Regions from separate parts of the Homo sapiens genome. Here all the other regions are linked to region 1. The links are contacts of gene promoters, found by promoter capture Hi-C in blood cells and fetal thymus (Javierre and others, 2016). All regions are on one chromosome and are shown on one strand. The core of a region is centred on a gene start or on the middle of the fragment in contact, and the rest is flanking DNA. Distances in the headings are between cores, read along the strand shown. Region 1 holds the start of FGFR1 (fibroblast growth factor receptor 1). Region 2 holds the start of LOC124901936 (a long non-coding RNA gene). Region 3 has its middle 110 kb from the start of TACC1. Region 4 has its middle 130 kb from the start of TACC1. Region 5 has its middle 110 kb from the start of LINC03042. Region 6 has its middle 92 kb from the start of LINC03042. Region 7 has its middle 72 kb from the start of LINC03042.

The links. The method cuts DNA at HindIII sites, captures the fragments that hold promoters and counts their contacts. A CHiCAGO score of 5 or more calls a contact.
Region 2: a fragment that was not itself captured here is called in contact with the fragment with the promoter of FGFR1 in region 1 in 5 of 17 cell types (M0 macrophages, M1 macrophages, M2 macrophages and 2 more); the score reaches 24.5 in M0 macrophages.
Region 3: a contact is called between a fragment that was not itself captured here and the fragment with the promoter of FGFR1 in region 1, in 5 of 17 cell types (M0 macrophages, M1 macrophages, M2 macrophages and 2 more). The highest score is 16.2, in M0 macrophages.
Region 4: a fragment that was not itself captured here is called in contact with the fragment with the promoter of FGFR1 in region 1 in 4 of 17 cell types (M1 macrophages, M0 macrophages, M2 macrophages and 1 more); the score reaches 13.1 in M1 macrophages.
Region 5: a fragment that was not itself captured here is called in contact with the fragment with the promoter of FGFR1 in region 1 in 4 of 17 cell types (M0 macrophages, M1 macrophages, M2 macrophages and 1 more); the score reaches 9.3 in M0 macrophages.
Region 6: a contact is called between a fragment that was not itself captured here and the fragment with the promoter of FGFR1 in region 1, in 3 of 17 cell types (M0 macrophages, M1 macrophages and M2 macrophages). The highest score is 10.0, in M0 macrophages.
Region 7: a fragment that was not itself captured here is called in contact with the fragment with the promoter of FGFR1 in region 1 in 3 of 17 cell types (M1 macrophages, M0 macrophages and M2 macrophages); the score reaches 8.8 in M1 macrophages.

The regions. Positions count from the first base shown.
Region 1 is chr8:38,466,874-38,470,786 of GRCh38, forward strand. FGFR1 (fibroblast growth factor receptor 1) reads right to left here and starts at 1,762. Exons shown (of 18, transcript NM_023110.3): 1 at 1,108-1,762. RefSeq lists silencers at 1,045-1,164, 1,175-1,304, 1,575-1,644 and enhancers at 1,502-2,488, 1,925-2,094. The HindIII fragment of the contact is 10,295 bases long and covers 1-3,892 here.
Region 2 is chr8:38,698,354-38,702,266 of GRCh38, forward strand. LOC124901936 (a long non-coding RNA gene) reads right to left here and starts at 2,823. Exons shown (of 2, transcript XR_007060892.1): 1 at 2,601-2,823; 2 at 2,283-2,528. RefSeq lists an enhancer at 2,971-3,471. The HindIII fragment of the contact is 7,618 bases long and covers 1-3,913 here.
Region 3 is chr8:38,678,015-38,681,927 of GRCh38, forward strand. No RefSeq gene overlaps it. Among named protein-coding and RNA genes, the nearest start is that of TACC1, 110 kb to the right of the region's middle. The HindIII fragment of the contact is 5,437 bases long and covers 1-3,913 here.
Region 4 is chr8:38,658,175-38,662,087 of GRCh38, forward strand. No RefSeq gene overlaps it. Among named protein-coding and RNA genes, the nearest start is that of TACC1, 130 kb to the right of the region's middle. The HindIII fragment of the contact is 7,512 bases long and covers 1-3,913 here.
Region 5 is chr8:38,637,882-38,641,794 of GRCh38, forward strand. No RefSeq gene overlaps it. Among named protein-coding and RNA genes, the nearest start is that of LINC03042, 110 kb to the left of the region's middle. The HindIII fragment of the contact is 550 bases long and covers 1,927-2,476 here.
Region 6 is chr8:38,618,307-38,622,219 of GRCh38, forward strand. No RefSeq gene overlaps it. Among named protein-coding and RNA genes, the nearest start is that of LINC03042, 92 kb to the left of the region's middle. The HindIII fragment of the contact is 6,514 bases long and covers 1-3,913 here.
Region 7 is chr8:38,598,779-38,602,691 of GRCh38, forward strand. It overlaps the pseudogene RNF5P1. Among named protein-coding and RNA genes, the nearest start is that of LINC03042, 72 kb to the left of the region's middle. The HindIII fragment of the contact is 7,404 bases long and covers 1-3,913 here.

The sequences.
Region 1 (3,913 bases), core at 512-3,011:
AAGAAACAGGCTTCACACCCCACCCCCCCCCCACCACCACCAAAAAAGTGTCTGGCTGCCTCATAGGGGGTGTGTGTTCTATATGAACCCCCATCTACAAGGTCCATAAAATTCCTCCGCAAACATGGGTCGTAGCCTCACTTTTCTCCCAACCCCAAACATAACGGTAGGGGAAGCGAGGTGCAGAGGGGTCTGGGCCAGAGAAGCATACGCATCGCTGCCGAGTGAACCACACCGGACAAAAACCCTCATCCCTTCCCCCACCTCTAGGAACCAGATTGGGACCGAACGGTCCTTCCGCCCCCATCCCACACCTCGGCTTAACGACCGTGGGTTGTCCTCCCGTTCCCCAAACTTCCGACCCTTTCAGAGACCGTCCAAGTCATAAGATCACCCCTTCTGGAAAGGGGAGTCGTTTTTCGCTCTCAGCTCAAGCAGATTCAGCCATTTGGTGACGACACCTCCTTAAAACCTATTCCAAGAGAAGCTAACCTAGCCCTCCACGTCCTCCGCAGTTCATCTCCCACCCCATCCGACCCCAACCCGCACCCCAGGCTTTCCCGGGGGTGGAAAAGGACTTAGGAATGCCCCGGATTTTTAGCGTTGAGCCCAAAGCTACCTGCTGAATTGGGGGTGAATCCCCAAAAGGGGACCAAAAAGACATGGAGTGGAATGCAACACACACACATAACACACACAACGCATCCCACCTCGCCGCCCACTCCCGCCCTCCTCCCCAGTCCAGGAAACCGCGGGCCTCGCCGCCTTCGCCCCGGGCCTGTCCCTCCCGGGACTCACTGAGGAGCCGCCGCCGCCTCGCCAGCTCCCGAGCGCGAGTTGGAGGAAAAGTTGGGCGGCGGGAAGAGCGGCGGGACGAGCGCAGGGAGGGGGCGCAGGAGACGCGGACGGAGGGAAGGGAGGGGAGACCCAAGGGGCGCGGATCGCCCGGGAGGGAGCCAGGAGGTGAAAGGGGCGGGCGGCGAGCGGAGGGAGGCGCCGGCCCCGGCTGGGCTGCGGCGGGCAAAGCGCGCAGCCGGGAGGCTCCGGCGCCGGGGGCCGCTCGGGACGCCAAGCCCGCCCCAGATCCGGGGGCGCCGCGGCTCTTACCTCGCTCGGCGTGGAGGTTCCGCCTCGGGAGAGTCCGCCGTGGCTTGTGCGAGCGGGCGTGTGCCCGCGTCCCCGGCTCCGGCCCGCCGCCCCCGGGCTCTGTTCGGGTCCTGGCGGGGTCGCAAGAGCTCCGCGGCCGGCGCTCGACTCCCGGCGGCGCTCGGTGCTCGGCGCCTCCAGCCCGGGCGGGAACAATGGAGCCGGAGCTGGTGCCCCGGAGGCGGGGCGGGGGGAGGGCTCCCGTCCGCCACCCGGGGTCTCCAGACCTTGTGCCCCCCTCCTCCAGAACGCAGCGGCGGCGCCTCACTTTCCTTGCAGACCGGGCTCCATCGCCCTGCGGAGGCCCCGGCGCCGCGGCGTGCCCGACTGCAGCACGGGTACCGTGCGCCCTGCGGGGCGCCCCGAGCTCGGACCGGAGAAAAGTCCTTGGGTTCCGCGGCTTTTCAAGCAGCGGCGCGCTCGCGGCCGGGGAAGGCGAGGTCGCCGCAATGCGCTACGAGGGGTCTCGGTCCCGTCCGGACGTGGCCGCCCAGCTCCCGGCACACCCGGGTTCCTCCGCGCGCTGCGGCTGCACCGGCGTCCCGGCTCCCGCTAGCTGCCGCCCGCCGCCGAGGACGCCGCGCCTGTGGCCGCAAGAGCGCTCCGAGCGCTATGCGCCGGCGGGGCGCGAGGGCTCGCTCTCTCACTCCCACCCGCGCTGGTCCCTCCTCCGCCTCCGCCCCCTGCAGCTGCCTGCTGGGCCTTGTAGTTCCCCAGCCGCGGCCCCAAAGGACGGGGAGCGGGCCGAGCTGTCCGGCGCTCTGCCCTTCTCTTCCTACAGCCTGGTCTCCTTTGGCGTTTGCGCCCCTGCATCTGAGCACGTCCCAGAGGGCGCCGGAATGTCAGGCCCTAGACATAGCAGCGGTTTGGGGGCTAGGGGGCAGGTGAAGAGACGCCGCAGCCTTGAGGTTGTACCTGGTAGCGTGGGCTTTGGAGTCTGTGCGCCTTGGGGAAATGATTTTCGCGCTCTAAATCTCTGTTTTCCCATCTGTAAATGGGGGATAATAGTGCTTTTCACATAGAGTTGAGGCGTCAACGAGGGCCTAGCGCATAGTTAACACTTAGTAAATACAAGCCGGTTTTATTATAAGGTCAGCCCCTCCTCAAACCCTTCCCTTGGATTTCAGCTTTCCCCAGCCACATAATTTAGGTTTTGTGGTCCACCGGGAACTGGACCCTGTAAATTCTACAGCGATGCTGTTGGCTTCCAGAAGTCTCCAGCCTGCAGTGAATGTCTAGGAAGCAAAGAGTAAGCAGTGGGAGTTGAGGGGAGACGTGTGGTTGGTTTGGAAATTAATCACAGCCCACTCAGAACACCCTCCAGTACTGTGGAACACAGGAAAGTGGCTAAAATGCTTCCCCCTGAGTCTTCCCGCGAAGTGGTATAATGTAGTGGTTCCCTAATCCAGATGGACACGGGTCCTAGGGAACGTCTGAAAAATACAAGTTCATGGGCCTGCTCAGACATGAGGAATCACGCTGTCCCAGGAAGGAGCCAAGAGCCTTTATTTTTTCCAAGGCTCCTTGGGGCGTGTGATGTGAGCCCAGGCTGAGGCCACCATTGGGGTGGGAAGTAGGCAGCACTTGGTCTGAAGGATTCCTCCATTCTGTCCATCATTTATGAAGTTTGATGTAGGACAAATCATGCATCTGATAAAATCAAAACGGGGTATCTGTTGATACTCCTTCACAAGATGGTCATAAGAATCAAATAAAATAATAGCTCTCAGTGGACCAAAAATATTACACAAATGGAAGTCACTATGAAAGGTAGTGGCAGGGCCTGTTCCCTTACCATCACCCACCTCAACCCCGAAACTTGTAGAAGTTTGAATACTGAATGAGATCCCCCCACCCAACTCCTCACCCAACCCACCCACGCCTCCCTGGCTAATTTAAGAAAAGAGTTGGCCGGGTGCGGTGGCTTATGCCTGTAATCCCAGCACTTTGGGAGGCCGAGGCGGGTGGATCACGAGGTCGGGAGATCGAGACTATCCTTGCCAACAAGGTGAAACCCCGTCTCTACTAAAATACAAAAAAATTAGCCAGGCATGGTGGCGCTTGCCTGTAATCCCAGCTACTGGGGAGGCTGCGGCAGAGGAATCGCTTGAACCCGGGAGGCGGAGGTTGCAGTGAGCCGAGATTGTGCCACTGCACTCCAGCCTGGCAACAGAGCAAGACTCCGTCTCAAAAAAAAAAAGAAAAGAAAAGAAAAAATGGTCCTCGCGCTATTTTTCTAATCCACCAGTAGGTGACAGACTAGTGGCCAACACAGTGTTATTCACATAGTAGACACTCATGAAATCCCTTGACTGGCCAAAGAGCAAATATTCAATAAGTATTTGTTGAACAAATGAGTAAATAAACAACTAAATTACAGCTCACGCCTGTAATCCCAGCACTTTGGGTGGCCGAAGCGGGAGGATCACTTGAAGCCAGAAGTTCAAGACCAGCCTGGGAAACAAAGTGAGCCCTTGTCTCTACAAAATATTTTTAAAAATTAGCTGGAGGTGGAGGCTGAAGAAGGAGGATGGCTTGAGCCCAGGAGTTTGAGGCTGCAGTGAGCTATGATCCAGCCACTACACTCCAGCCTGGGCGACAGAGTAAGACCCTGTCTCAAAACAAAATAATACAAAACAAAAAATGAGAAACAAGAACTCATATCTTTGTTGAATAAATGAACTTCAGCCACTGTTTATAGGGTTTTCCCCTAAGAGCCACCATTTAACCTTTCAGCTCCTGGTCAAGCTTGGTTTATACTCCTATG
Region 2 (3,913 bases), core at 376-2,875, 230 kb after region 1:
TAGAAAAAACTGAGACTCCCATCAGCCAACAGCCTTGGCTGAGCTCCCAACTGATAGTCAGCACCTACTTGCCAGCCATGTGAGTATACCATCTTGGAGGCAGCTGCTCCATTTGATGCTACTTGGGGCAAAGATGAACAGCCCAGTTGAGTGCTTTACAAATTCCTGGTCCACAAGATTATGAATGAGCCACCAGCTTTTCAGTTTGTTTGCTACACAGCAATAGGTGACCAGAACATACTTTATCATCAAAAACATTTTAATAATCTTTGCATATGTATTTGTTATATACTATCCTGTTTTATTATGTGCATTAGAAAACACATTACTTATAAGGCACATGTATTATGTTCATTATAAAACACATTTATTATATTTTTACATTAAAAAGGGTTAACTAGAAATAGAAGTTCTAAGATTTTCTTTTCACAGACCAGTGCTTTATTTTGAGGATACATACATTTTGGTGACCATTGGTCTAGAATAGATGATACTTTGAGACCCAACTCAATGCCAACAGATAATCTCCTAATATTAGTGAAATATTTGAAAATTGGAGCATGTATAGATAGAACCAGCACATGCTCTAACAGGAAAAAATTAACCTCATATCTATGGACAGCCAAATTTGACCCAAGCAAGGATACACAAACTTAATTTTTGCCACTTCTATACAGCTCTCTTTTTAAGGCCCACAACCAACAAGTAGGGTTTTTTTGTTTGTTTGTTTGTTTGTTTGGCATGGGGTTAAGAGTGATTCATTCGATTCTTGCTGCAGCCTAGGGAGAATTAATTGTTTTATTTTATTTTATTGAGACAGCATCTCACTCTGTCACCCACGGTGGAGTGCAGTGGTGCAATCTCGGCTCACTGCAACCTCCACCTCCCGGGTTCAAGCGATTCTCCTGCCTCAGCCTCCTGAGTAGCTGGGATTACAGGTGCATGCCACCATGCCTGGCTAATTTTTGTATTTTTGTAGAGATGGAGTTTCACCATCTTGGCCAGGCTGGTCTCAAATTCCTGCTCTCAAGTGATCCACCCGTCTCAGCCTCCCATAGTGCTGGGATTACAGGCACGGACCACCGCGCCCAGTCAGCCTAGGGAGAATTTAAATGTATTAGTCCAAAGCCAGTTCACAATATATGAATATTGTTCCAAGTCAGTAAATAAAATTCCACATCATTATTTTAATAAATACATGGTATTCCAATTGGTGGACAGATAATTTTTTTTTTTTTTTTTTGAGACAGAGTCTCTCTCTGTCGCCCAGGCTGGAGTGCAGTGGCATCATCTCGGCTCACTGCCAGCTCCGCCTCCTGGGTTCAGGCCATTCTCCTGCCTCAGCCTCCCAAGTAGCTGGGACTACAGACACCCGCCACCAGGCCCGGCTAATTTTTTGATTTTTAGTAGAGATGGGGTTTCACCGTCTTAGCCAGGATGGTCTCGATCTCTGACCTTGTGATCCGCCCGCCTCGGCCTCCCAAAGTGCTGGGATTACAGGCGTGAGCCACCGCGCCCCGCCAATTTTGTTTTTATGTCATTGGATATTCAGGCTGTTTTCCAACTTCTGGTGATTAAACAATCATTCTCATAGCTAAATCTTTGCATATCTCCTTATTTATGTAATTATTTCTTTCAGATGCATTCCTAAAAGAAGAATGGTTGATTATAGACAAACAATGGATATGAATAAGCATTGTCAAATTTATCTCCAGAAGGTTTGCACCAGTTTATAATTTCTCCAACAATGTTAATTACCCAGCACCCTCAGCAGTAGTTCGTACTGTAACTTAAAAAATAATTTTTGGGCCAGGTGCAGTGACTTACGCCTGTAATCCCAGCACTTTGGGAGGCCAAGGTAGGCAGATCACCTGAGGTCAGGAATTCAAGACCAGCCTGGCCTACATGGTGAAACCCCATCTCTACCAAAAATACAAAAATTAACTGGGCTGGTGGTGGCGGGCACCTGTAATTCCAGCTACTCGGGAGGCTGAAGCTGGAGAATCACTTGAACCCAGGAGGTGGAGGTTGCAGTGAGCCGAGATCATGCCATTGAACTCCAGCCTGGGTGACAAGAGTGAAACTCTGTTGCAAAAATAATAATAATAATAATAATTTTTGTCAACTTAATATAAAGACTGTGCTAGACATATACACATGTATTTCATGTATTATACACCCTTTGTGCCTATTTTTCATATTTACTTTTATAAGCTGCCTCTTTTTTGTGGGAAGGAATAAAGCATACTGCAAATAAACAGTTTTAAAGAAGTATTTCCTAATTCTTGGAGAGATAGAAATGGCAGTTTTATTAGTCAATAACTCCTTTCATTTGCAAGTATCACAAACACGACTCCAATTGGCTTAAGCCAAAAAGGAATTTCTTGGCTCACTGAAGAGTTTCAGGCACAGCTGGACTCAATGGTTCAAATAATAACATCAGGACTCTCTCTGTCTCCATGTCTCAGCTTTGTGGCCTCTGCTCGCCTTCATTTCCAGACAGACTCTTACTTCATGGCAGCAACGACCTGGAGAAACAAAAGAGCGTTAACAAAAGGCCCAAGAAAACTGATTGGCCAACTTAGGTCATGTGCCCCTACCTGAGCCAATTGCGGTGGCCGGGATCATGGAAGATTGACTGACGAGGTCTTCGTTCCATATCTTTAGTAGAGGACAAGGTGGGTTTCACCACAGCCAAACTAAGCGAGTAGTATTATAGAATTAGGGGCTGGGAGATTCCGTAAGGAAGGAAAGCTGGACAGACGAAAAAAACAAAAGCATATCTCCACTTGAACAGATCTGATAGATTTTGACCAACCCACAGCTCTTTCTGGGTTCTGTAATGAAAGGCAATCGGATGCAATGGAAATCCTGTCTAGGAGCCGGGAAACCTAGAATTAGTCCTACCTTGGTCACTACTACCTGTAGTAGCTCTCTAAGCTCAAATATCTCATTCTGATGAGATAGGGAAAGATAAATGCCCACCTTACCTAAAATGATTCTGGTAAAACTTCAAATGAAATTATGAATGCAAAAATGTCAAGAATAAAGGATCATGCAAATATATGTTGCATGCAAATAAAAATAAAACTTGGAAATCTGTATTTCCCATTGTGGTTTCACATACCTTCCCTTTGAGAAACCAAGAGAAAAATCAGTGCATTGTGGCTCTGAGGCCCATACCTCGCTTAACCTTGGCAGTTCACTTTAACTGTGCTCGAAGTCATGTTGAAATGTCCTCAGGAAACAGGAAAGGGTAGCAGCTAAAAGTTGAAAACAGTACTGACGTCACACTATGCTAGTTTCTTTCTAGGAACATTTGTATCCTGTCTGTCTTTGCTTTCCAGCTAATTAACAAGCCCGTGACCTTCCTTAGCACGAGGATGACCACAGTCCAGCGTGGAGCAGCAGGAAGTGGACGGCCATGGAATTGCAATCCAGCTGCGTCCCAGCTCGGTGGAGGGCCAGAGCAAGAAGCCAGGCATGGGGGCTCTCTGAGAAGCTGAGCACTTCTGGATGGGAAATTTGTTTGAAAATAGTCATATGCAGGCAAGGGGTGAGCACGTAGAATTATGCACAGGGCCTGTGTTTCACCCAGTTACCCAGAGAAACCTGCACTAATTGTTCTCAGCCAACAACACAGAACAGTTAATGCTCTGCTCCGAACAGGGAAGCAAGGCTTTTGCCCACGTTCCTGCTCATGCCTGCCAGACTACGGCAGGAGATGGGAGGCGCAGCCAAAAGAAGCTCCAGCCAGCTTCTCAGCAGGGAATGCTCATGTGTAGGTGACTGTCTGCAGAATGGGGATTTGAGAGGTATACCCGCTCCCCAAATGCAACCCTCTTATCCCCTCAACAGCCTGCCAAGTTGCTGCCTCAAATCCCCACAATTCAGACAGTTCCTCTAGAGGCAC
Region 3 (3,913 bases), core at 931-3,430, 210 kb after region 1:
TATCTAATTATAGATAAATAGCCTCTTCTCCTGCTCTCTTAAGAACCCCCTGAAGATGCCAATTTTGAGTTGTACATTAACTCATGGCCCTGGCTAGTTGCTGGTGACTTTCAGAAGGGGGAGTCCGGCCAGGTGCAGTGGCTCCTACCTGTAATTCCAGCACTTTGGGAGGCCAAGGCAGGAGGATTGCTTGAGCCCAGGAGTTCGAGACCAACCTGGGCAACATAGTGGAGACAGGTCTCTACAGAAAATTTAAAAAATTAGCCTGGCATGGTGGCGGGCACCTGTAGTCCCAGCTACTTGGGGGGCTGAGGTGGGAGGATCGCTTGAATCCAGGAGGTTGAGGCTGGAGTTAGTCCAGTGATCACACCACTGGACTTCAGCCTGGGCAACAGAGCAAGACCCTGTCTCAAACAATAATAATAAAATAAAAATAAAGGAGAACCTCTGTCCTTAGTTTCTCTTCCAGTCCCTGAGTCAAAGACAGCTGTGTCTCATGCCCCCGTGGGAGGATGGCTGCCTGCCTCTTCGGGTCACCTGAGCAGAATGGCGTCATTCTCGCCGTAGTCCTCACTCTCTTCTTTAACACATCCACAGGTGCACCGACCCTTTTTTACTGTGCCTCACACAGGCTGCTTTCTTCCTCTGCCATCATCCTGCTCAGTATACAGGAACCCGTTGTTCACCACACAGTGTACCGTTATCCCCTTTGATATGCTGCTGTTTGAGCCAGATGCTGTCTGTCTTCTAGCATTTCATCCTTTGAAAGGTTGAAGGAAGCAATTTCTATGAAGGGTGGCTCCTTGTAAGAAAGCGAAGTCATATTGCACTTCATGCCAATCTTGCGCGGATTTACCTGTCTCCACTCCCACTCTCAGAGATTAATGAATGAAGAAGTACGTTTTGGTGGCTTTAAGCTGGCCATCCCCTAAGAAATGCCAGCACATGCCAGTGATAATGAGGAGGCTGGAGGGCTCAGCTGCTGGTCCCCTTTCTGCACTGGGACCCCCAACTCTATCCTGCATCGTAAATCTAGGGGAACGTGAATCCCCTTTCTATAAAAATGATGCTCTTCCTCAAGGCATGTTAAATATCTGGAATGGAATAGACATGGTCCTGAGAGATTGCTTTTAAAATAAAATTTAAAAGCCTTTCTATATTGAATCATTTGTATATCTTGAATAATTTTTTCCTATTGACTTGTATTTACATGTTTAGATATAATGGGAATGAGATTGTCAAAATAAACTAAATCACGCTTCAAATAATTCAATTAGCACTTTTAAAAACTACAATAAATGAAACTATGAAAACAATCCCACTCAGATGAATGAATCAGAGATGTCCAACATACGGCTGCAATCCAGTGGAACCCTCCAATCAACAGGGGACAATGGCTCTTATTGAATCTTACAGATGCTACAATTAAAACTTACATTGTGGCTGGGTATAGTGGCTTATGCCTGTGATCTCAACACTTTGGGAGGCCAGGGCAGGAGGATTGCTTGAGCCCAGGAGTTTGAGACCAGCCCAGGCAACATAAAATAAAAAATAAAAAACATAAACAACATAAAACAAAAAGTAAAAAATAAAAAATAGCCAGGTGTGGTGGCGCATGGGCCTGTGATTCCAGCCACTCCAGAGGCTAAGGTGGGAAGACTGCTTGAGCCCAGGAGGTTGAGGCTGCAGTGAGCCATGTTCATGCCACTGCACTCCAGCACTCCAGCCTGGGCAAAAGAGTGAGGCCCTGTCTCAAAAAAAAAAAAAAAAGTTATATTGCATCCTCTGAAACCTGACATGAGGGCACTCTGAGTAACTAATATTAGAGAAAAAGATATTTTTATACAAATAAGTCTAATAGAAAAAAAGCACTTAAAACAGTGTCTGGCACAGAGAAAATACTCAGTAAACACTTTTACTGGAATACTATTTTAACAGGAAAATGTGGGCTCATGGCCCTGCCCTCGGTACCCACTATGTGTGTTCAGACTCTATGGCTCTGAAGATACATGGCTCCTGGTTTAGTTAGGGATAGGAGACAGAGCCTAAAAAGAAGGAATAATGCATTTTGGGGTGTGGGGTGTGAGGGGAGAGGCTGAGATGTTTTCTGAAGGAAGAGATCTTCAATCTGAGTCCTGAAAAATGAGAAGGTGTTTCCTAGATGGACCCAAGAGTAGGGCTTTTCCAGGCCGAGAGCAGAGCTTGCATATGAGTGAAGGTGGGAAAGCAGTTGGAAAATAGTGGTGGAAAGAGAGGGTATGTTTCAGGGAAGTTGGACAAATGATGCAACTGGAAGGTAAGCAGGGATCAGGTACTGGCAGACTCTTAGGTCCCACTTTAAGGACTTTGGACTTGATTCAGTGGAGCTGCAGAAGGGTTTTCAGCACAGGGTGTGTTTGCATGTGTATTTGGCATATTTGGGCTGTGTTGAATGACCACAAACATTAAGGCTTTCCAGGGGTTAAAGGACAATTCCGGAAAGGAGCAGAGATTAGATGAACGAGTTGAATAATGGACATGATCCAAAGGCACCCAATAATCTAGGAGCTACTCAGATAGCTAAGACAATGGAGAAAGACGTTAAGGAAGGGGAATCTTCTAGGAAATGTTGCTAGGGGCGGAACCGTGGAAACTGATGAATGTTAGCTCCTTCCTCTGGGTTGGGGGCGGATAGCGAGCTCCTCTCACAAGCCTTTATTGAAGTGCAGTTGGTTTGAGAACTGGGAGGTGTAAATAGCTCCGCAGGTGATTGTGATACATATTAATCGTACTGCTCATTTGTGTTGGGGGCACAAAAGAGAAGGGAGAGATGAGACGAGAACTCATATCACGAGCTTGCTAGGCAGAGGTGACTCCCACATGAGAAGCAGTCTAGAATCTAGAACCTGGGCCACGTCTAACCTGGGCAAAAGCGGCCTCCATGCATCTGCTCCCTTGATTCATGGATGGTCTACATCCTGATCAACTCTCACCCCAGCAGGGCAGTAGCTTTTTGCTCTCCTGAAAACAGCCATGTGTGTGTTGTGCACAAAGCCAGGGCAGAGGAAGGAGCCCTGAGAACAAGCATGGAAGAGCTGGGTCCAGCCATCACACTGCTCCTTACTGGCTGGGTGGCCACGAGCAAATCACTTGACCTCTCTGAGCTACAAGATGATAACTTTTTAAAAGAAGGCAATGGAATCTGCCCCAGCTCCCTCACCCGGCTATGGCGAGGGTGGCTAAGGGGAGGGAAGAACTGCAGCCTGTGTTGGTGGCAGGCTCCAGAGTGGCAAGGAGGACAAGCAACTCCAAGTGAGGTCAGAGCTCAGTACCACTGTAAGACCTGCATGTGATTAAACATTAAACAGTAGCTGGGTGAGGTGCCTCACGCCTGTGATCCCAGCACTTTGGGAGGCTGAGGTGGGAGGATTGCTTGAGGCCAGGAGTTTGAGACCAGCCTGGGCAACATAGTAAGACCCTGTCTCCACAAAAAAAAATTTAAAAAAACAAGCCAGGCATGGTGGTATGCTCCTGTAGTCCCAGTCATTCAGGAGGCTGACAGGGAAGGATTGCTTGAGCCCAGGAGCTGGGGGCTGCAGTGAGCTATGGATCATGCCACTGCACTCCAGCCTGGGTGACAGAGTGAGACCCCATCTCTAAAAAAATAATAATAAAATAAAATAAACAGCAGAAAGGGCACAAGGGGATTTCCTGGGACCTTCGATAGGGTCTATAGTCTCAGGTGGTAGTTAACTGAAAGTATACATTTGTCAAAATTCATTGAGCTGGCTGGGTGCGGTGGCTCACGCCTGTAATCCCAACACTTTGGGAGGCTGAGGAAGGCAGATCACCTGAGGTCAGGAGTTCGAGACCAGCCTGGGCAACATGGTGAAACCCTGTCTCTACTTGAAATAAAAAATTAACTGGGTGTGGT
Region 4 (3,913 bases), core at 532-3,031, 190 kb after region 1:
CACAGGAATGAAGGTAAATTCACTGAAAGAACAAAAGGCACAGGTTTCCCAAGGTCATTTTGGATAATCAAACATCCAGTGGGGACACATTAACCTTGGTAGACTCAAGCCGAGTGAAAAGCAGGCAGAGGTGGAGTGGGGCCAGGTTGCCCTCAGTGGGATTCTAATCTGAGAAATTGGTGTTGCCACTTAGCAACAGCAGAGTGCAGTTGATTGGCACCCCTGTCTATTATCACCAGCACTGGGCTGAATACAGCATCCCAAATCACTGAGGGTTGTATGATTTGGTGCTAAGGAGCAGACTAGAATCAGAACCCTATGACTTACTAGTGTGTATGGATGACATTGTGCAAGGCCAGTGGCCCTTCTGCTCTGTAAGCAGACTTGCTTCCCATGTCACAATGGTTTCACAAATGCTGGAGAGATTTAAAAGAAAGTTCTGCTTGTTAGGAACCATTTCCTCTTGAAGCATTAGTGTTCACTTGGCCAAATGCACACAACCAGCCCACAGTGTACAGGAACAAGGCTTCCAACAGCCTCATGAGTTAGTGGGCAGCTCAGTGCAAGAAAGGCTGCATCATTAGCCCGAGCTAAATGCAGCAGGCAGCCTCTGAGCCTCGGCCTAAGAGCCAGCCTTCTTCCCCCAGCTGGGATCAGCAGCTGCCTATGGAGTTTTGCTCTGGACTTGAGTGATGATTCATCTGACCAAGTTTTTTCCTTGCTGACTCCTCAAATTCCCAGACTATAAAAAGGAGGATTTAAGGAGGGTCTCGAAGTCAATCAGTCAGTGAATAACTCTTGATTAAACAACCACCTTGTGTCTAGCAGAAGGCTTGCCACTGTGGTCCCTTCCAAATAAAAAGAAGACATATGTTCCTTTCTCATAAGGAGCCTACAGTCTAGTTGGGGAAGCCATATAAGTATATGCAGAACAATAAAAAAGTGATAAAGTGCTGAACTATATATAGTGTTGGTTCTAGATGCAGGTGAAGTTGCATTTAGAGGCTGGCACTATGCATGGAAGGTTCATGAATGGAGTGGGCTGGAAATGCTGGGTCCACTGGAGATCAAAACGCAGGCAATATAAAGTGTGCAAAGTTTCCTATACTGTGATCAAGTTGGAAAAAAAAAAAGCTAAATGTAAGTCTCATAGGTTGAATTGTCTTTCCTTCTGGCTGTTTACCAGATTCTGTACAGGATTGAGGGCTCACCAAAACTTTCACAGCATGGTAGCCATCCTCCAAGATGGCTCTGGTGGGGACCTCTGCCTCCTGGCATTGACACGGTTGTGTTATTCTCTCTCACATTGTGCCAGGGATGGTCTATATGACCAATTAGAATACGGCAGAAATATTGGTATGCCAGTTCTGAGATTAGGTTATAAAAGATACTGTGGCTTCCACAGAGATCTGAGTCTCTCTTTGTCTCTGTGCCACTCTGTCTTTCTCTCTTACACTGGGCAAAGCCAGATGCTATATGCAGCCCAATGGAAAGAAACCATATGGAGAGGCCCACATGGCATGGAACTGAGACTTCTACCTACAACCATGTGAGTGAGCTTGGAATTGAATCCTCCAGCCCCAGTCAAGCCTTCAGATGACTGCAGTCCTGACCAATAGTTTGACTGCAACTTCATGAGAGACCTCAAATCAGAATCACCCAGATAAGCTGCTCCTGGGCTCCTGACCCACAGGAACAATGTAAAGGAATATACATTTGTTGTTTCAAGCTGCTATCACTGAGCACTCTTCTTTTCTGGGCCAGCCCCAACTCTGTAGTCCAGTCTACAGCTCAGGCTGTGCTCTGTCTTCTTCAGGTTCAGTAGAATGATGACATCTGATTGCAACACTCTTCAACCTGGGGTCAAATTCATAGCAGCTCTTTCAAATTCAGGACTGCCAAAACTTCTCTCAGTAATCAGATCAGACTCTGCTGCCACAGTGGGTTTTCAGGAGTAGTCAGAGACTTCCCTGGCTGTGGGTACATCGCACAGCACCAATGTGTACTGTACAAGCATGAGTCTTCAGCCTGCTGATTGGACAGGAATGTGTAGTCTTCTATGTGGTTTGTGAAAACCACAAGCTGGAAAAAAAATCTGCTAAGGAATGAATGGCATCTCCACCTTCCCTGCAGTAGTGGACATGAGAACATGAGATGTTCATTCAGAGACCTTTCAGCGGCTTTTGCAGTTGCAAGAATGGTCTGAATCAGAAATTGTGAAGCTGCCCACAGACATTATGGTGAAATCCTGCCATTGGTGAAGCACTTGCTGAACACACAGTTTTCTTTTGGCCAAAGTTGAGAACCAGTGATGTTCTCAAAGTGACTGGGCTGTGTGACACTTTGAGAGGATGGCAAAGAAGCAGATTGGGAAACACTAGTGGACTGTTGGGGAGAGGAGAGCCATGGTTCTGTATCATGGACACTCTGACTTCATGGGAGCACAGTTGGCTTCTCTTCCCAGTATTCTCTGTTTTGGTGAGAGGCAAGACCATCACTTAGTTTTTTTAAAGACATGGGAAGGAATTGTTTTGGAGCCCTCACAAGTCTCCATCTCCTTATTATGTCATTGAGTCTTGTAGAGAACCTTCTATTTTTCCAACCCTTCTCCTCTCCTCCATCCCTACTGCAATTGTTTAGTTTGGGCTTTCATCATTTCTTGCCTGGATTATCACAGTTGCTTTATACCTGAGAATCAGAGTTATCATTCCATGGCAAAGATCTGATAAGTGTTGCAGAAAGTCAGAGACCCTGAATGGAGGAACTGGCTGGAGCTGCAGCAGAGGAACATAAATTGTGAAGATTTCATGGACATTTATCAGTTCCCAGATAATATTTTTATAATTTCTTATGCCTGTCTTTACTTTAATCTCTTAGTCATGTTATCTTCGTAAGCTGAGGATGTACGTCACCTCAGGACCACTGTGATAATTGTGTTAACTGTACAAATTGATTGTAAAACATGTGTGTTCGAACAATATGAAATCAGTGCACCTTGAAAAAGAACAGAATAACATCGATTTTTAGGGAACAAGGGAAGACAACCATAAGGTCTGACTGCCTGCGGAGCCATATTTTTCTTCTTGCAGAGAGCCTATAAACAGACATGCAAGTAGGAGAGATATCGCTAAATTCTTTTCCTAGCAAGGAATATTAATATTAATACCCTGGGGAAGGAATGCATTCCTGGGGGGAGGTCTATAAACGGCCGCTCTGGGAATGTCTGTCCTATGCGGTTGAGCTAAGGACTGAAATACGCCCTGGTCTCCTGTGGTACCCTGAGGCTTACTAGGATTGGGAAACTCCACCCTGGTAAATTTTTGGTCAGACTGGTTCTCTGCTCTCGAACCCTGTTTTCTGTTAAGATGTTTATCAAGACAATACGTGCACCGCTGAACATAGACCTTTATCAGGAGTTCTGATTTTGCCCTTGCCCTGTTTCCTCAGAAGCATGTGATCTTTGTTCTGCTTTTTGCCCCTTGAAGGATGTGACCGACTCCCTGTTTGTACACCCCCTCCCCTTTTGAAACCCTTAATAAAAACCTGCTGGTTTTGCAGCTCAGGTGGGCATCATGGTCCTACCAATATGTGATGTCACCCCTGGTGGCCCAGCTGTAAAATTCCTCTCTTTGTACTCTTTCTCTTTATTTCTCAGCTGGCTGACACTTATGGAAAATAGAAAGAACCTACGTTGAAATATTGGGGGCAGGTTCCCCCAGTAGATAAGGTAATACCTTTACTCAAAAACATTCAGCATGGGCCAGTCTTGGTGGCTCACACCAGTAATCCCAGCACTTTGGGAGGCTAAGGTGGGTGGATCACGAGGTCAAGAGATCGAGACCATCCTGGCCAACATGGTGAAACCCCATCTCTACTAAAAATATGAAAATTAGCTGGGTGTGGTGGCATGCAC
Region 5 (3,913 bases), core at 952-3,451, 170 kb after region 1:
TTGTTCAATATTGGGAGGTTTCTGTGTTTCCAGGAATTTATCCATTTCCTTTAGATTTTCTAGTTTGTGTGCAAAGAGATGTTCACAGTAGTTTCTGAGGATCTTTTGTATTTCTGTGGGATTGGCTGTGATGTTGCCTTTGTCATGTCTGATTGTGCTTATTTGGATCTTCTCTCTTTTTTCTTTGTTAATCTACTTAGCAGTCTATCTTTAAAAAAAAAAACAACTTTTCATTTTGTTGATCCTTTTTTTGGGTCTCAGTTTCTTTCTTTCTTTCTTTCTTTCTTTCTTTCTTTCTTTCTTTCTTTCTTTCTTTCTTTCTTTCTTTCCTTCTTTCTTTCTTTCTTTTTTTTCTGAGACAGCATCTCACTCTGTCACCCAGGCTGGAGTGCAGTGGTGCAATCTAGGCTCAATGCAACCTCCACCTCCCAGGTCCAAGCGATTTTCCTGCCTCAGCCTCCCAAGGCTGAGGCCCAGCTAATTTTTTTGTATCTTTAGTAGAGATGGGGTTTCACTATGTTGGCCAGGCTGGTCTCGAACTCCTGTCCTCAAGCAATCCGCCCACCTTGGCCTCCCACAGTGCTGGGATTACAGGCGTTAGCCACCGTGCCTGGCTTTGAGTCTCAATTTCATTTCAGGAACTTGGCATTTAAAATCAGAAGGTTTCTTGGCAGGAGATTTTGCTTTGAATCCTGTCTTGCCTGTTTATCAAAAGTGTAACCTTGCAAAGGCCAGTTGGTCTTTCTGAGTCTCAGTTTCCTCATTTCTATATCGGGATTGTTGTGATTTTGTGAGATCACATGTGAAAGTGCCTTATAAATAAGGAATCCAAGACATTGTGGGTGGAGAAATTGCAAAATTAGTGAGTGTCATAACGAGGCCTCATTAAATCTGGCTAATGAGGTCTGGTTTCCAGGACTATTTTATGACTCTCTAGGTCCTCATGGTAGAAATGGAGAAGACATCTTTGGGGCCAATGTCTAGGTCTACTAGGAAGGTAGGCTTGTCCTGTCCCAAGGACAATGAAATATTCAGCCTTAAAAAGGAAAGAAATTCTGACATATGCTACAACATGGATGAACTTTGAGGATATTATGCTAAGTGAAATAAGTCAGTCACAAAAAGACAAATACTATATGAATCCATTTATATGACAGATCTAGAATAGTCAAATTCATGGACACAGAAAGCAAAATGGACTCATAGGAGGGGAAATAAAGAGTTATTGTTTAATGGGTATAGAGTTTCAGTTTTGCAAGATAAAAGAATCTTAGGGATGGATACTGGTGATTGTTGCACAATACCATGAATGTATTTAATGGCACTGAACTGAATACTTTAAAAATGGTTAAGATGGTAAATTTTATGTTGTGTGTATTTTACCACATTTAAAATAATAATAATAAATGAATATTTTTAAATGGCCACCCGAATTTTATAAGCTACTGCCCCACACAATTGGAATCTACTCTTGTACATATGGTATATAATAAAATATCATCTGATAATTTCTTTAAAGGAAAATCAAGATTAAATAAAGACTACTATGTTGGGCATGGTGGCTTGTGCCTGCAGTCCTAGCTACTTGAGAGGCTGAGGCAGGAGGATCACCTGAGCCCATGAGTTTGAGCTCCAGTGAGCTATGATCATGCTGCTGTGCTCCAAGCTGGGTGACAGAGTGAGACACTCTTAAAAAAAAAAAATCAAACATGTAGGAATAAATCTAACAAAAGAGGTATAAGATCTCCTTACTGCAAATTACAAAACATTACTGAGAGAAATTAAAGAAGAGATAGATGTTTTAGTCTGAATATTTGTTCTTTCCAAAATTCATGTTGAAATTGAATCCCTAATACAGCAGTATTGAGAGGTAAGGCCATTAAGATGTGATTGGGTCATGGCAGCTCTGCTCTCAGGAATGGATTAAGCTTTTCATGGATTTATAGGCTAATGGGCTAATGGATTAATGAGTTGTCATGGGAATGGGACTGGTGGCTTTATAAGAAGAGGAAGAGAGACCTGAACTAGTACACACAGCCCCCACTGTGGTATTCTATGCCACCCTGGGACTCTGCAGAGAATCTCCACCAGCAGGAAGGCTCTCATTAGTTGTGATCTCTTGACCTTTGACTTCTCAGCCTCCATAACGATAAGAAATAAATTTATTTTCCTTACAAATTACTGAGTTTCTGATATTCTGTTGTAAGCAACAGAAAACAGACTAAGACAGTAAATATATACCATGGTCAGGGATTGGAAGACTCAGTGCTGTAAAAAGTCAATTCTCTCAAAATTGATCGATAGATTCAATACAATTCCAATAGAAATCCAAGCCAGGTTGTTGTTTTTTTTGGTAGAAATTGACAAGCTGATTCTAAAATCTATGTGGAAATGGAAAGAGCTATGCATAATAAAGACACTCTTGAGGAAAACAAAGTCAGAGGAGTTATATGATCAGCTATCAAGACTTATCTTAAGCTTTGATAATTAAAATTGTATGGAATTGGTACAAAGACAGACATAAAGACCAACAGAACATAACAGGACCCAGAAATAGACCCACATAGACACAGTCACCCGGCTTATGGCAAAGTTATCACTGAAATGTAATGAGATGAGGGTGATCTTTTCAGTAAACGGTGCTAAGGTTAATTAGAAGTCCAAACAAAAAAAAGTAAATTTGGTCTCTAGAACATGCTATACACAACAATCAATTCAGGGTGGACCACAGACATTAATATGAAGAGTAATACAATAAAGCTTCTAGAAGGCAACATGTGAATATTCTCATGATATTAGAGTATGTGAAGATTTTGTAAACAGATCACAATAAAACCCACTTGTCAAAAAGGAATAAAAAACTGTGAAAATTAAGAATTTCCATTCATAAAAAGACACCATGAAAAGAATGAAAAGGCAATATATATTTTTGTATTGCATATATCTGACAAAGGACTCATCTTTAAAATATACAAAACACTTCTATAAATCAATAAGTAAAAGAAAGACAACCTAATGAAAAAGAACTTGGCAAATCAGTATAGGCACTTTACAGGAGAGGGTCTCTAAGTAGCCAGGAAGCATATGAAAAGGTGCTTGATGCAGCTACAGTGTGGAGTTAAGGTTGCCTTCTGGGACTAAAGCGCTCATCTCCCTAGCTTCTGGGAGCCTTCTCCTCCCCTGTGGTCCTCTCTAGGAACTGCCCTTGGCAAAAGAGAACTCTACTACCCAGTCATACTCCTTTCCAAGGACAACCTGCATTCAATGATGGGTCAAAACCACATTCAGTGATTGCTGTGAAGGCTTGGCCCCCTTGCCTCAAGGCAGGACAACTCTGAAGGGTCAGGCCAGCTCCTGAGTTCCCATGGGATCAGCGGAAGCCTATTGCAATGAGACGTCCATCCTGTTGCCTTCTGTCTCTGACAGGTGTCCATCTAAGGGCATTCCCCAATCAACTTCCTCATGCAAACCTCCATCTCAGTCTGTTTCTCAAGGGACCTGACCTGAGACAGTAGTCAACTTCATTAGTTATTGGGAAAATGCAAATTCAAATGACCATGGGTCTAAAATGACTAAAATTGAAAATATTGACAATACTAAGTATTTGGGAGGATGAGAAGTTGTGGGATTGTAAATTGGTACAAGGATTTTGGTAAATTGGCATTATTTACCAGAGTTAAAGGTACAGATACCCTGTGGCCCAGAAATTCCACTCTTGGGTTTATACCAAAATGAAATGTGAGCATATGTTCACCAAAAGACATATATAAAAATGTTCGTAGCAGCATTATTTGTAATAGCCCCAAACTGGAAATAACACAAACATCCATCAACAGCAGAGTGGTTAAATGAATTGGTATATCTATATGATGGAATAAACAAGAACAAATGCCATAATATCAGATGAACCTAA
Region 6 (3,913 bases), core at 583-3,082, 150 kb after region 1:
CTATCATGTGAAGCAGCATGGACTAGCCTACAGAGGATGAGGCCTCATGGAGCAGACAAGCTGTCTCAGTTGAGGCCCTCAAAACCAATCAAGCTCCAGCTGAACTGCCAGGTGACTGTAGCTGCATGAGTGACCCCAGGCAAGATGAGCAGAAGAGGCCCCAACTGAGCCCAACCCAAATAGCTGACTCATGGAATCATGAGCAAATAAAATGGTTGTTTTAAGCCACTAAGTTTTTAGATGGTTTGTTACCCAGCAATACATAATTGGTTTATCAGATATCACAGCTATTTTATAGATGAAGAAACTGACTCTCCAAGAATTTGATTGACTTGCACATCAGGACAAGGACTGGGATGGAAAGAGAAAGCCATGTCCTTCTTTGGTTTAAGAACCTAACAGACAAGTACAGTGTAATGGACATTTCTGACACTGGAAAGTTAGTAATATATGATGGGGTTTGAAAAATTCTAGAAGACAGAAATAAAGTATTCTAGGGGCTGAAGTCTGGCCAAATATAAAGAGACTGCAGAGATGTCGTCCAGTTGGACTGGGAAAGTCAAATGTGAGTTGGCAGAAGTGAAGGCTGCAGAAACATGTTGGATACAGACTTGGCTCCCAAGGCTGAGAATTACAAAACTGGGGAGCAGGGTGAAGACTCCAAGCTCAAAAGAGGCAATTTTAGGACAAATTTTTTAATTTTAATTTTTATAGATTTAGGGGATACAAGTGAAGTTTTGTACATGAATACATGGTGTAGTGGTGAAGTCTGGGCTTTTCACGTAGCCATCACCCAAATAGTTTACATTGTACACAGTAGGTAATTTCTCATCCCATCCCATCTCATCCCACCCCCCCCCATCTTCCACCTTTTGGAATCTCTATTGTCTATTATTAATTTTAGGATGAATTTTTAAAAAAGACAACTTTTCACAGTGGGCATTAAATTAATGGAACTCCTTACTTTCAAAAGCAGTTAGGTTAAAAATATAAATAGTTTTGTCTATGTATTAATATATTATATCATATTTACTGAGAGCTTATTATATGCTAGGCACCATGTTTGGAGATGGAGATTCAGAAATTAGTAGAACATGATCAGTTCCCTCATATTCCAGAAAGAGAGACAGACATACTGACTAATCCATCTACATGTGGTTATCGAGTCCTGTGTGCAGATCCTGTGCTGTTTCCTGTGCTAGTTCTGCAGATTGAGGAGTGAGCAAAATAAACTTGCTTCCGCTCTCCTTGAGCTCACAGTTTGTTGGAGAAGGCAGATATTAGATAAATAACTAACTAATCATAATACATGATTGATTATTCATAGTGTTGTAAGAGAGAGGTACAAGGAGCTTTAGAAATAGATATAAAAGGGAGTCATTTTCTAATCTGGGGAGCCATAAAAGACTTCCTTGAAGATTTTAGGCTTAAGCTGACAAAAGGAGGCTGAAGATGGGTGAGGTTGGCACATACAGGGGAAAAATATTCATAGAAGAATCATCACGCAGCAAAGGGATGAAGAGAACTATTTGAGGAACTGAAAGACATCCAGTATGCCTGTGTTGGAAGGAACAAGAGGGCAAAACCAGGCTGGAGAAGGTCCTACTCTGTCTTGCTGTGCACCCCAGGAGGGTGATCACTGAGACTATGCCTCCTGGGCTCCCTTGCCCTCTGGCTTCCAGTTGGGTCTGGGCGATGGGAGGCATGAGTAGGAGATAAGAGAACAGAGGGAAGAGAAGCCATGACATTTCCCCTCCTGCTTTCTCCCTGCCTGGGTGCTGAGTTTCTGGTGGTGCCTGTATTCTACAACAGCAGTTCCTGTTGGGTGGCCCCGTTCCCATGGTTCCAACTTTGCTGGTTCTTGTAGCACCTTTTTCCCTCTGCCCATTCAGGCCTAGGAGTCACAATGGCTTCCCACATTTGCTAATCCTGGAATGCCTTAACTTCTCTTTTTATTTCTTTTAACCTTTGTATATAGTCTCTTTATCAAACTATCCTTGAAATCCTGGTTGAGGGTGCTGTGATGGTTAATTTTATGTGTCATCTTGACTGGGCCAAGGAGTGCCCAGACAGCTGGTGAAACATTGCTTCTGGGTGTATTTGTGAGGGTGCTTTTGGAAGAGATTAGCCTTTGAATTGGTGGACTGAGTAAAGTACTTGGCCCTCCCCTGTGTGAGTGGGCATCATCTAGTCTGTTGAGGGCCTGAATAGAAGAAAAGGTGGAGGAAGTGTGAATACATTTTCTGCCTGATTGCTTGAGCTGGGATACCAGCTCATGATACCTGCCCTCAGTGCTCATGTTCTTAGGGCTTCAGGCTCAGACTGGAACCTGCACCACTGGCTCTCTGACTCTCAGGACTTTGAAATATACCGCTGGCTTTCCTGGGTCTCCAGCTTGCAGATGGTAGATTGTGGGAGTTCTCAGATTCCATAATCATGTGACCCAATACCTTATAATAAATTTATTTATAGATATATCTTATTGGTTCTATTTCTTTGGAGAGTCAAATGTAAGTTGGCAGAAGAGACAGGGTTTTTCCATGTTGGCCAGGCTGGTCTGGAACTCCTGACCTCAGGTGATCCACCCTCCTGGCCTCCCAAAGTGCTGGGATTACAGGCACGAGCCGCTGCACCCAGCCACAGTATCTTATAAAGCGAAATATATACTTACCCTATGACCCAGCTATCCCACTCCCAGAAATTTACCCAAGAGAAATGAAAATATATGTCCTCACAAAGTCTTGTATGTGAATGTTCACAGCAGCTTCATTCAAAATAGGTCAAAACTGGAAAGAACCCAAACTTCACTGCTGAGTGGATAATCAGATTGGGTATACTCATACACTACTCAGCAATAAAAGTGAATGAAATTATTAATACATGCAACATAAATGAATCTCAAAAATACCATACTAAGTGGAAGAAGTGAAAAACAAAAAGACAGCACGCTGTCTGATTCCATTTATATGAAATCTTAGAAAAGGCAAAACAGAGCAATCGTAGTTGCCTGGGTAGGGGTAGGGAGAAGATATGGACAGCAATGGTTGCATTAATAAAGTTTTTATGGTAATGGAAACATCTATATCTTGATTGTGCTCATGCTTACAAGACTGTGTAAAGTTACTAACATTTCATCAAACTACCCAATTAAAATAGGTGAATTTTGTGTATAAAACTATACCTGGCTGCGGTGTGCCGAACAGAATGGAAGTGCGCATGAATGGACGGAGGGAGGCCAGTTGGAAGGTCTCTCCTCCCCACCACCCCTCATTACAGCATTCCCTTCCCAATAGCTTTGCAGCTTGGGAGTCTGCCCTAACAGAGTTGGGGGAACCTGGTTCTTTTCCAACTGACTGTCATACAAAGGACCAAATCACCACTCTCATCTCCATCTCCGTCTCCCTGGCTGGTTCCCAAGGATGTTATTAGGATAACTGAGATCTTGTCTACAAAGAAATCCCAGTTCCATGGAGACAAATATTCACTAAGCCCAAGGAGGTTAAGCAGCTTATCCATTGCAACTTTATTTCTTTAGCCCCTCTGTGTTCCTGTCTGCAAAAGGAAGGGCTGAACTACACAGCCTCGAAGGATCCTTTGAGCCCTAACAGCTTGTGATTTTAAGTCCAATGCAGGTTTGATTTGAGTTATTATTTATAGTCTTCATGTGTATGCTCCTCTGCAGGAATGCCCTCTCTTCCTCAGCACCCGGTTGCATTTACTCAGCTTCCAAGGGCCAGCTGAAGTTCCCTTCACACTCCATGAAGCCCCTTCTTACTATTCTCAAGTTCCACTGATCTGGACTCCTCTTGCAGTGACAGCCTGTACTGAATCATCCAGCACTTCCATATGATAGAATGCAAACTGCTTTGGGCTGTTATTATGTATATAATAATGATATTTTCTCCTCAACCAG
Region 7 (3,913 bases), core at 997-3,496, 130 kb after region 1:
TAGCTTGAGAGCAGAAACTCTGTGTTGACCATGTTTCCTTGCCATCTGGGACCCAGGAAGCACTGCCCCATCCAGGGTTAACTAATTCCTAGAGATAACACACAACTCTCCTGCAAGCTCATTTATAAAAAGTGTTGAATTTTTTTATTTCCACAGGTTTTTGGGGAACAGCTGGTATTTGTTTACCTGAGCAAGTTCTTTAGTGGGGATTTGTGAGATTTTGATGCACCCATCACCTAAGCAGTGTACACGGAACCCAATTTGTAGTCTAACTTCTCACCCCCCTCCCACCCTTTCCCCTGAGTCCCCAAAGTCCACTGTATCATTCTTATTCTTTGCATCCTCATAGCTTAGCTCCCATTTATGAGTGAGAACATACAATGTTTGGTTTTCCATTCCTGAGTTACTTCACTTAGAACAATAGACTCCAATTCCATCCAGGTTGCTGTGAATACCATTAATTCATTCCTTTTTATGGCTGAGTAATATTCCAATATATATCACAGTTTCTTTATCCACTCATTAATTGATGGGCATTTGGGCTGGTTCCATATTTCCTGCAAGCTCATTTTTGATATGCAAACCAACCAATTCCAAGTCCATAGCCCCACCAGATCCCAAGGCCAGGACACTAATCCCCTGCCCTAATTGCCTGAGGGCCAGATACTGGACAACCACCTCTAAAGCCCAGAGCCTGCCAAAATTATTCAAATTTTTCATTCCTAGACCTGTTGGGCTGCTTACCCTTCCCTGCCTATTCCTTTCCAAGATAACCACACACAGGCTGTTACCTGTGTTTCTTCTTGACAGACCCTGGTGCTTCCCACGGGACCCTGGGTGGTAAGTGCACTTCCTCTGCTTGGGAACAGTTTGAATGGCAGTTGTCTCCTGATCTGCTGGTCTCATCATGCCTAAATAAATCCCAGGTACATTTTATTTTGTTATTATTATTATTTTTGAGATGGAGTCTTGCTCTGTCACCCAGGCTGGAGTGCAATGGCGCGATCTTGGCTCACTGCAACTTCTGCCTCCCGGGTTCAAGCGATTCTTCTGCCTTAGCCTCCGGAGTAGTTGGAATTACAGGTGCCCCCACCACGCCCACATAATGTTTGTATTTTTAGTAGAGATGGGGTTTCACCATGTTGGTCAGGCTGGTCTCGAACTCCTGACCTCAGGTGATCCACCCGCCTTGGCCTCCCAAAGTGCTGGGATTACAGGGGTGAGCCACCTCACCCAGCCAATCCCAGGTACATTTTAAAACAGACCCTGCCCTACTGATCTTTCTATTCCTAACTGTGCCTAATACTATTTCGTGCATGCAATGGGGTTTCCGTAAATATTTGGTGAATTGATTCTAATTGAGTTGTTTGAGCCCCATATGCCAGCAAATTTTATTTTGCTTTATTGATTTTTTTTTTATTTCACCTTTTTTATTGAATTTGTATTAAAGGAGGTAGTGAGGGGGAGGAAGCACTTAAGAGTCAGAATCCATATTAGACTCTGGGGAGTGAAAAATTAAATTAAATCAATAAGATGGGGAGTGGGGGAAGAGTCAGAGGGAACTTTGCCCACCTTTCAAGATCAAATCAAGAAATCAGGGAAAGCAAAGACTTAGGAGAGGAGAAAGACATTCTCTCAATCCATCCTCCTTCCCCAGGGCAGAGAATTAAACAACGTTACTGAGTGAGCCTCTGAGCAGAAGGCTCTCCCATCTATGCACAGACTTCACTCCTCCTCCCCAGGCCTTCCTGGAGAATGTCCAAGGCTGGCCTTAGCCAACAGAAATAGAGGGGTCAAGGGGGTCCAGGAGTACGGAAGGGTCAGCAGGGACCCTCAATACTGATTCTCCTCTGGCTGGAGGTGGGCGGGAAGCAGACATAGCTCAAATACTGAGCAGCCAAAAAAAGAAGAAGATGGCGAGAAACAGGAAGAGGGAATCCTGTCAGCTGGAGGCCGGGTGACCCTGTCCCAGATCCACACCTGTACCCCGGCGGAAAGGCTCATGGGCATTGAAGACGATGGTGAAAAAGCCAAAGGGAAAAGCACCAACACCAAATGAGAAGTGGAAGCCCCCGGTATCACCAAATGGCTGGAATCCCCCTCTGCTCTCTGGAGCTGGTCTCTGGCCCTGGGGGCGGGGTGGAGTTTTCAATCTGGGATCCTGGGGCTTCTGGCTCCCTCGCCCATAAAGCGGGACAACCTTCTCTCTGCTGATCCCAGCTTTACATACTGGACACTCTTGCCGTTCTGGCCGTGCCAGCCACTGATGAAGACATGGCCAACAGTACAGGTGGCCACACACACTGACCACAGCTTCCCGAGCAGTCTCCAAACATATATTACATTCGAAGGTCGCGCCCGCCCCGCCCCGCTCGCGATTTGGCCCCTCGGGGCCCCCGTCCTCCTCCTCCGCTGCTGCCATGGCCGGTTTTGTTTCGCCCCACGTACCCTTCAGTCCCCCCAAATACACATACACACGCCCCAACCTGCTTTATTATTACCAAGACGCTCCCACTCCTTCTCCCAACAGATTTCCATGGTGCAGCATCTTCCACAATGCTTTCTTCACACCTTGCCCTAGAGCAGTAACAAGCTCAAGAATTTGAGTGCCCATAGCATTTTTCTCCCTGGTCTGTGTCACTCCAAAAAGCCTCATTCTGTGAAATATATGGTGGAGCTGGCTTCTTGGTAGCCTGGCAGCCCTTACTCAGCCTTGCTTCCTTGGAGAAAGTTTCCTGATGTCTGACACTTGCAACCTGAGGGGAGGGATATTGAGATTGTCTGAGGATGGATGCCAACAAAGACCTCTTTGTGCTGCAGCCCATGTAGTTCTGTGTCTGGCTTTGGAGTGACGAGGGCTGGGACCTGTTCTCACCTGGGCATGTCACTGCTGCAGGAAGACGGCTGTCTGAGCTTGGGTCCCAAGCGCCGGATGAAGGGCACAGCCTAGCTGGTGGAGGCAGCAGCCTGCATGTGACACTTTTACAAATCAGGTTCAGAGAAACTCATTATAACTGGTTAGATGGAGGAGTCTGAACTGTTGAAGTGTGAGCTTGCAATGGTATGATTTATTTTCCCCAATTGCTGCTTTCATTTATACAGTGTAGGCCCTCTGTCCCGCTGCTTCACATCCCCTAATGCTTCCTTGGATGGGTGCCATGCCTCCCCTGTCACTTTTGGACATTCACACAGTCTCATTCCAGCAGTTAAGGCTTGGGCCTGTTCACATTTCCAAACTTCAGTCTTAAGCACAATGCAACACTCTGTCCTCCCTCCTCCTGGGCTGGTGAGAGCATTGGCTCCCAGCAACCCGGAGAACAGGAGGATGGTGTAGTCTGCCTCTGCAACCCTCCCTCCTTTTCTCTCTCTTCGATGGGGCTAGAGGGCAGGAAGGAGGGGTAGAGGCAGAGCTTTCCCTACCTGACCAGTCCCTGCCAGTGTGGGGAGACTTCCGGGCCTGGCTTTCTTGGGGGCAGTGTTCAGCTTCACCTCGGTTTCCTCCAAAATAAGGAACCCCCTCCAGGGTGGGCGGCAGTCTCCCTTTGGGTGCTTGTCCCCTCTGGTTTAGGTGTCCTACTACCCAGCTCTGTGGCTGTCCTGGAACTCCTGGTTCTTTTTTTTTTTTTTTTTCGAGACGGTGGTCTCACTCTGTTGTACCGGCTGGAGTGTACTGGCACAATCATAGCTCACTCCAGCCCCTCTTGGGCTCAAGTGATCCTCCCACTTCAGCCTCCTGAGTATGTGCACCACCACACGGTAGAGAAGAGGTTGCCCACGCTGCTATTGAACTCCTGGCATCAAGTGATCCTCCTGCCTCGGCCTCCCAAAGTGCTGAAATTGCAGGTGTGAGCCACCACGCCCAGCCACCACAGGCTTCTTCCTGCACAACTGCAGGAATCCCTGAGGTCCTCTT